Regions from separate parts of the Homo sapiens genome. Here regions 2 and 3 are each linked to region 1. Evidence: promoter capture Hi-C in 16 types of primary human blood cells and fetal thymus (Javierre and others, 2016). All regions are on one chromosome and are shown on one strand. Each heading gives the region's core, a stretch centred on a gene start or on the middle of the fragment in contact. The rest is flanking DNA. Distances are from core to core; before and after follow the strand shown.

What was found. Contacts are between HindIII fragments. The CHiCAGO score rates a contact against its expected background, and 5 or more counts as called.
Region 2: a contact is called between a fragment that was not itself captured here and the fragment with the promoter of TICRR in region 1, in 1 of 17 cell types (erythroblasts). The highest score is 5.6, in erythroblasts.
Region 3: a contact is called between a fragment that was not itself captured here and the fragment with the promoter of TICRR in region 1, in 1 of 17 cell types (erythroblasts). The highest score is 5.2, in erythroblasts.

What each region holds. Positions count from the first base shown.
Region 1 is chr15:89,574,079-89,576,778 of GRCh38, reverse strand. TICRR (TOPBP1 interacting checkpoint and replication regulator) reads right to left here and starts at 1,310. Exons shown (of 22, transcript NM_152259.4): 1 at 539-1,310. The coding sequence starts at 1,192. RefSeq lists an enhancer at 383-911 and a silencer at 1,033-1,322. The HindIII fragment of the contact is 7,754 bases long and covers 1-1,502 here.
Region 2 is chr15:89,310,920-89,313,619 of GRCh38, reverse strand. It overlaps FANCI (FA complementation group I), which reads right to left. Exons shown (of 38, transcript NM_001113378.2): 35 at 648-716. Among named protein-coding and RNA genes, the nearest start is that of MIR6766, 15 kb to the left of the region's middle. The HindIII fragment of the contact is 9,693 bases long and covers 1-2,700 here.
Region 3 is chr15:89,280,123-89,282,822 of GRCh38, reverse strand. FANCI (FA complementation group I) reads right to left here. Exons shown (of 38, transcript NM_001113378.2): 15 at 1,523-1,653; 16 at 988-1,058. Among named protein-coding and RNA genes, the nearest start is that of FANCI, 37 kb to the right of the region's middle. The HindIII fragment of the contact is 429 bases long and covers 1,158-1,586 here.

The sequences.
Region 1 (2,700 bases), core at 61-2,560:
TGCTGCTTGCCTCTGAGGTATTTTTAGACTAGATGGAGGGTGAGAGATGTGCATAATCAAAACATATGGAGAAATGGTTAAGTGCCACACAAAATGTGTATGGCAATTCAGACGCTGGACTGAGCAGTTGTCACTGGGAGAAGAAGCCTTAAAGGGTAAGTGAAGTTAAGACTGGCCTGGAAGAGTGAGAACTGGCATTCCAGGCAGATTGAACAACACACATAACACAAAACAAGCAGTCCAGACCTGTTGATTTTCTGGACTGGACTTCAATATGCTAGAGTAGATGTAGTGTGTAGGAAAATCAAGTCTGGGAAGGCAGGTAGGGCCCAAATTGTGAGGGGTCTTAAACAGTAGGTAGTGAGGAACTACCCATTTTGTTGTGAAAACTGTTCCTATTTATTTGTTTCCTTCCGAAGGGACGCATAGTCATATTAGTCTCATTCGGGGTCTGTGGCTGTTCTAAGGACGCTGCCAAGTTCTGGTTAGCAAGGAAAGCACCGTGCACGCCATCTGAGACGACAGTAACCTTCCTTACCTTAGACCATTCGGTGGTATCCACCCAGTAGAAGGTGATTTTTCGGGCGACCATGACTTCCCGGACTCTCTTGGGCAACAACTTCTCCATCACCTGCTTAGGGGTGGGCGGCAGGCGCTGGGCCTGGGCCTCGCACCCAGACACGAACTGCAGCAGCTCCCTCTGCGAGTGCGGACAGGGGGCCAGGAGGAAGACGGCGTTCACCAAGCCCCCGAGCGCGGCCTCGGCCTCCTTGGCCTCGCTCTCCACGTCCAGCAGTCTCCTCCCGCTGCTCCGCAGGATCGGCTTCGTGGGCGACGTGATCTCGGGCCGGTCCCACTGGTAGTCTAGCAGCGTCTCCATCAGGGCGCCGTGCGTGTGGGTGGCCCTGGGCGCCGGGCCGGGCAGGTGGGCGCGATCCTCGAGCCTGGCCTCCAGCTCCTCCTCAAAGTCCTCCCACGAGCGGGACCCCAGCTCGCGGAAGTCAGACACGCGGGACGGCCGGCTCCGCGCCCCCTGCGAGTCAAAGAACTTGAAGGCCCAGTGGACCCTGGCCAGGCCGAATCGGCAACTCAGATAGGTGAGGAGGCGCAGGGCGGCCCGCCGGACCCGGCTGTGGCGGGCGGCGCCGCCCGCGGTGTCCAGCAGCAGCATTACTTTGTGACAGCATGCCATATCGGCCGTGCCGCCGCCCCGGGGCCCCGGTCCGGGCCCGCGCCACCGTCCCTTAGTCCCTTCCTTCAGGGAAACAGCACCACTCACTGCTTTCCTTTGGGACCCTGGTCGAAAGGCTCCCGCGCTCTCCAGGAACTGCTGCTATTGGGGGAGCTAGTTTCCAAGGTTTGCTCCTATTGGCTGCTTGCCTTACGTAAGTTACGAGAGCAACTTCCATTTTTGGCGGTGATTGGAGGGGCAGTGGAGAAAACTTCAGTCTGATTGGTGGAGGGAGTGACGGTGGGCGGGTCTCTGTGGTCCGAGAGAAGCTTAGCATTCATTGGCCTGGGCCTTCGTTTTAAATTTTAAAGAGGTGGTGCCTCGGGGGCGTGTCGAGAAGTTTCGCCATTGGAAAGAGGCCAGCGTTTGTGCGCAGTCGTGAGTGCGGACTGCGGGGCCACGTTTCCCAAGACCGAGGAAAACTTAGTGCCGGGAGGGAATTTGGGATGGTTTGAATCGAACTTGTTGAAATCCCTGTGGACCGCCTAGGAAGTAGAATCTGACGACTACGGCTTTTTCTGTAATTTAAAAAATTTTATTAAAAATTAAAGGTTCACTCCCTTTGCCCCAGTAACTTCTAGGAGTTTATCTGCAGAAGGTAATCGGAGAGCCAGATAAAAGACGTCTGTACATCTTAGAGTTTATTTAACATCAGAAAAAATGGAAACAGTTTGGGAATGGTTAAATAAGGTATGGTACACGCCCAAGGGGAGCATCGTGCAGCTCCTTTTTTTTTTTTTTTTTTTTTTTTTTTTTTTTTGAAACGGAGTCTCGCTCTGTCTCCTAGGCTGGAGTGCATTGACACGATCTTGGCTCACTGCAACCTCCACCTCCCGGGTTCAAGCGATCCTCCTGCCTCAGCCTCCTGAATAGGACTACAGGCGCACGCCACCACCCCAGACTAATTTTTGTATTTTTAGTAAAGACGGAGTTTCACCATGTTGGCCAGGCTGGTCTCAAACTCCTGACCTTGTGATCCACCCGACTTGGCCTCCCAAAGTGCTGGGATTACAGGCGTGAGCCACCAAGCCCGGCCTAGTGCAGCTTCTTAAAATAGTGTTTTATTATGTAATGTTAGGTTTTAAAAGTGGACTGCAAGCAGCACCTGCAGTGAATTCCCTAAATTTTCTATCTACATGTATATATAGATAGAAATCACATGTAGATTTGCATTACAGATAGAAATTATATATCGCTATATAGATAGAATACATAGAATTATATATAGATAGGCCGGGCACGGTGGCTCACGCCTGTAATCCCAGCACTTTGGGAGGCCGAGGCGGGCGAATCACCAGGTCAGGAGATCGAGACCATCCTGGCTAACACAGTGAAACCCTGTCTCTACTAAAAAAAAAAAAACAAAACAAAAAAAAAAGGAATTATATATAGATAGATAATCATAGATAGAAGTTATATATAGATAGAAATGCATTTATATGCATATTTTTAAACTGTTAATATAATAT
Region 2 (2,700 bases), core at 188-2,687, 260 kb after region 1:
GGCTGTACTAATTTTCACCTTTGCCAGCAATGTACTAAGTGCCTCCTTTCCTGTACCCCCGCTGACTCTTACACATCTTTTAGGGAGCACCTTTTGCATTCACCAACTTTACCTAAAAATAATTTCTCCCAATTGAGTATCGTAAGTTATTTTACTATTTCCATTTCAACTCAAGATTTTCTGGTGCTTCGTGAATAAAACATGTTTTTGGTTCAGAGGAAAAATAAGATGCTCCATCTGATCATAAAATCCCTGAGTTGAGAAGCAGCCATGTATATAATACACACAATTTTTTCTAACAGCTTGATAGAGCTGTAATTCATATACCATACAATTCACTCACAATGTACTTTTTTTTCAGTATTTGCAGAGTTGTGCAACCATCATCACAGTCAATTCTAAAACATTTTCATCACCCCCAAAAGAAATTCCATACCGTTTTTAGCTGTCACCCCAGTCTCCCCATCTTCCAACCCACCTAGCTCTACGCTACCACTAATCTAGTTTGCCTTTTTAGATGATTTATTCTGGGCACTTCATGAAAATGGAATCATACAACACGTGGTCTTTTTGTCACTGGCTTCTTCCGCTTCATGTTTTCGGGTTCACCAACAAGCATATTTTAACGGTCAGTGTCAGCAGCTTACCATGGCTGTGGCAACGGCAGCAGGTTTCTCCTTTTTCTCTCCCGTATAGTTCAGGCTCTTACTCTTATTCTAAAGAAATAGAAACACATTCTCTTATTCCTGATGATTTTTCTGTGGAGCTAGCATGCTAGTGCTAATTTTTTTTTTTTTTTTTTTAAGACAGAGCTTTGCTGTCACCCAGGCTGGTGTGCAGTGGCGTGATGTCGACCCACTGTAACCTCTGCGCCCCGAGTTAAGTGATTCTTGTGCCTCAGCCTCCCGAGTAGCTGGGACTACAGGCACGTGCCACCACACTCAGCTAATTTTTGTATTTTTAGTAGAGACGGTGTTTTGCCATGTTGGCCAGGCTGGTCTCGAACTCCTGGCCTCAGGTGATCTGCCGGCCTCAGCCTCCCAAAGTGCTGGGATTACAGGCCTAAGCCACCATGCCCACCAACTAGTGGCAATTTTCTTAGAAGGTAATTACACAGGGTATGAGGACCAAGTCTGGAGTAAACAGGACTATCTGTGCAACAGATGTTAGAAGATAGGGAAAAAATGGATGCTTTGTAATCCTCAGATATTTTTTCTTTTTTAGTTGTTGAGAGGTTTACAATCTGTTGTTCTTAGAGCTGGCACATGGAAGTTGAAGGCAGGACTATTACTGCAGTGGGTCAGCCAAGGGGCTGGTGAGGTACTAAAGAATGGTTAAAATGGGGACTGTCAAGGTGGTAGCAGGAATATTCATTTCTATTTCTATTTTAGCCAGTGGGCTAGAAGGATCCCATAAAGGAGAGGAAGCTGAGGAGGCTGCTGCAGGGCCCTGCAGTCTTCCCACTTACAGGCAATCACCAGATATATTTTATTTTCGTTACTCAGCAAAGCCAAAACCAGATATATTTTATGTGCAATGGGTTATCATGCTCAAGAAGGGTTAAAAGGGTCACAGAACACTTCCCTGTGTTGTAAATTATTGGGTAATAAAGAGCTCCTGGAGAGGGATGAATAACTAATAAAAGGAACCAAAAAGTGTAAGATTCTGATAAAGCAAAAGAAAATCAAGACTTGAGTCAGGAGAGACTGGGGAGAAAAACCACCCAAATGTAAGGTACGGTACAGAAATGTAGGCAGCTTTTTACCTCAAGGGGAGTTCTAAACCTTCTTAGGAAGGGAACATACCATGCTCCACGAGGGCAACAGAATAAAGAAACAGACCTGAAAATACAGAGAGGCTCTGCAACTGGAGCCATGAGAGAAACAGGAGACTTGTTCCACATGCCACGTTCTGGAAAATAAGGAACTGCAGACATTCCAGAGGGGCTGGTATGCAGTAATCTGTTTTTGGCCCTGGAAGGCAGGGTAGAGCATGGAAGAGGGTGAAGGCAGCAGAAGAGGGCAAGGAAGCAGTCACGGATCGACCTCACTGACCAAGTGGGAAGTGAACCATCTTCCCAGAGGTTGTGTCCAAGATGGGGCCCTGTTGGAACTCCTTAGATCAACCCTGTTCCCTGCCCATTCCAACTGATCCGGGCGGGCAGGACTAAAATTAGAGCCAGAAGAGAAGCATCTTTTTTTGAGGTGGAGTTTCACTCTGTCGCCCAGGCTGGAGTACAATGGTGCGATCTCAGCTCACTGCAACCTCTGCCTCCCAGGTTCAAGCGATTCTCCTGCCTCAGCTTCCCGAGTAGCTGGGATTACAGGCACGCACTACCATGCCCGGCTAATTTTTTTTTTTGAGACAGAGTCATGCTCTGTTGCCCAGGCTGGAGTGCAGTGGTGTGATCTCATCTCACTGCAACCTCCACCTCCCGGGTTCAAGCAATTCTCCTGCCTCAGCCTCCCGAGTAGCTGGGATTACAGGCGCCTGCCACCATGCCCAGCTAATTTTTGTATTTTTTTTAGTAGAAATGGGGTTTCACCATGTTGGCCGGGCTAGTTTCGAACTCCTGACCTTGTGATCCGCCTGCCTCAGCCTCCCAAAATGCTGAGATTACAGGTGTGAGCCACCGTGCCCTGCTATTTTTTGTATCTTTAGTTGAGACGGGATTTCACCATGTTGGCCAGGCTGGTCTCA
Region 3 (2,700 bases), core at 123-2,622, 290 kb after region 1:
GAAATTGCTGATTTTGCCATGTTTGAAGGAGTGCTTCCCTTCATATGCTCTCTTTCATCATAGGATAATGTAATATTTGATGCCATGTAAACTGTCCATCCAGAAAATGTCACACTTGTCTTCTCACTGAGGCGCAATGATTAATTCATGTTAAAGATGTTACAACGTAATATCTCAGTCTATTCGCTATGCCTTTGGGTGAGGAGTAACAAAAACTTTTAATTCTAGAACAAAGATAATAGCATATGGCTTAGTTGTTCCTCTGGACACCCATGAATATATTATAATATGGCCAATGTGATATTAATTGGGCATCTTATCCTCAAAGTACCAAATGCTTTTCACATATTACTGTCTTATATTTTTAGGAGATGGCAAGATCATCTCTAGCTTATATACTAAGAAATAAAGGAAGAGATGTTAGGAGGGACTGGCTAAGCTACAAATAAAACTCATTCCCCTCAACAATTAATTTGATCTACTAGCCTCTAGATCATAATTCAGATGTTCACTAAAATGAGATTCTTAAGTATAATCTTCTTGACTAAGGTACTTTCCCCTTTGGAACTGCTGCCAGCTCAGGTTTCAGAGTATTTGACACTAGAACATTACCCTGAAGATTATTCTAATGTAGTAGAGCAAAGTACTTGACATCACAAGCTCTGATGTTAGACCTGACTTTGAATCCTTGCTCCACCACCAACTACTGTTTTACTTTTGGAAAGTCACTCATCTTCTCTAAGCCTAACTTTTCTTATCTGTAAAATGGGAATTGCAATAATTCTTACTTCATAGGGTTGCTCTGAAGACTAAATGAAAAAAGCACATAAAGCACTTAGCAAAATGCCTTATTTGATGAAATTGCTCTGCGGGGCTAGGAATTCTCATGATCACTGTGAACAGGTGGTACTAGGAGATGGCAGAGATAACTTTAGCTCCAACATTAGAAGACAACGTCTTCCTATGATAGAAAAAGATGCTACATACTTGGCAAACATAGCTTTCCGAAGGACAAGTATCAAGCAGTCTCTCATTGACATGCTGACTTTGAGAAGGGGCTGAAAAAGAATCAGTGGGTAAAAACAGAACAAGTTTGCTTATTAGCCTTAGGTCATTTCTACCCAATACTGTTACCATATGGCTTCTATAAGGAAGCTTACTTCTGTTTTATATACGTTTTAATGTTTATTACAGTTAACAAGGACAATAGTATACTCTGAAACACTAAAATGAAACTGGTTGCAAATGCCTCTGTAAATCTATTGTAGTCAATAATGTTCTAAGAGAGTTTTAATTATTTCATTAACTTGAAAATGAGTTGAGAGAATAGTGTTATGGATAGGAAATAAACCTGGAAAACAGTCTTGCTCAATGCTCTTGCCCTTTTAATGCAAATTTTATGTTTCAGACTAAAGTGGAATAGAATTTCTTAGACATATATATTTATACAAAAATGCATCAGACTTCCACTAGACAGTTAAACCTCAGTTTTGGCAAGTTACTTGGGAATCTGAAGACTTACCTGCACTGCCTTAAGCAGCCTTTGTACAGTCTGAAGGGGCAGAAAGGACAAATAGTCAAAAGCTTCTGTGACTTTAGAAGAACAACTTTGAAGAACTAAGGGTGCATACATGACGATATTTGAAAGCAGGTCTGAAAAACAGAATCTATAATCAGTTGTCTCAAATAACTAAAGATAACTGAAATAAAAGAAAAATACGGAGAAAGAAATGTGAAGTCTTTTGTTTCCTTTCTCAAATAAGTCAAGTATACTGCAATACAAATTTCTACTGATTCTATATATACTTTTTCTCCAATGTAACCAGGATAATTTTAGCTTTTTTCTATGATAGTTTCAATTTCTATAAAAATTAAACTGCCTAAAAGAAAGGAAGAAACCGATTACACTGCCTAGACATAAGTAGTAGCACACATCTTCTTACTTCTAAGCTAAAATAAATCAATAAATATTTCTGAATTTTTACTATGCACAAGCGTAATATGGTCCTATTAGGAACATAAAAGTATAAAACATAGTCTTTCTTCAAAAATTTTAATAATTTAGTTGGAAGTAAAAAAATTTTTTTAAAGAATTAAAGAGGTAAATCACAGAGCAATATCAAATATCTATTAATTCCAAACATAGTTTATTGCCTACCAAATGGTAAAGGGAGAGTTTAAATAGGAGTTCAAAGGAAGAAGAGCTCATTATGAGTTGGTATATATTAGGAAAGCAATGAGGAGAAGGAACTTAAACTAGGTTCTAAAAGATGGGGAACATTTAAATGCACAAAGCACCAGAAAGGCCTACATATATAAAGGGAAAAGTATGAGTAAAGGTATGAGAAAGGTAAGTTTAAGACATATTCAGAAGATGGTAGGGAAATCAATGATGCTGGGGTGAAGAATCCAGGAAAGTAAATAACTGACTTTAACAATGGAAAGGTAGGGTGGGATCAACTTGTCAAGCACCTTCAGTGCCAGGATAAAGAGCTGACAATTTGGCCAGGTGTGGTGGCTCACGCCTGTAATCCCAGCACTTTGGAAGCCTGAGGCAGGTGGATCACGAGGTCAAGAGATTGAGACCATCCTGGCCAACATGGTGAAACACCATCCCTACTAAAAATACAAAAATTAGCTGGGTGTGGTGGCACGTGCCTGCAGTCCCAGCTACTCTCAAGGCTGAGGCAGGAGAATTGC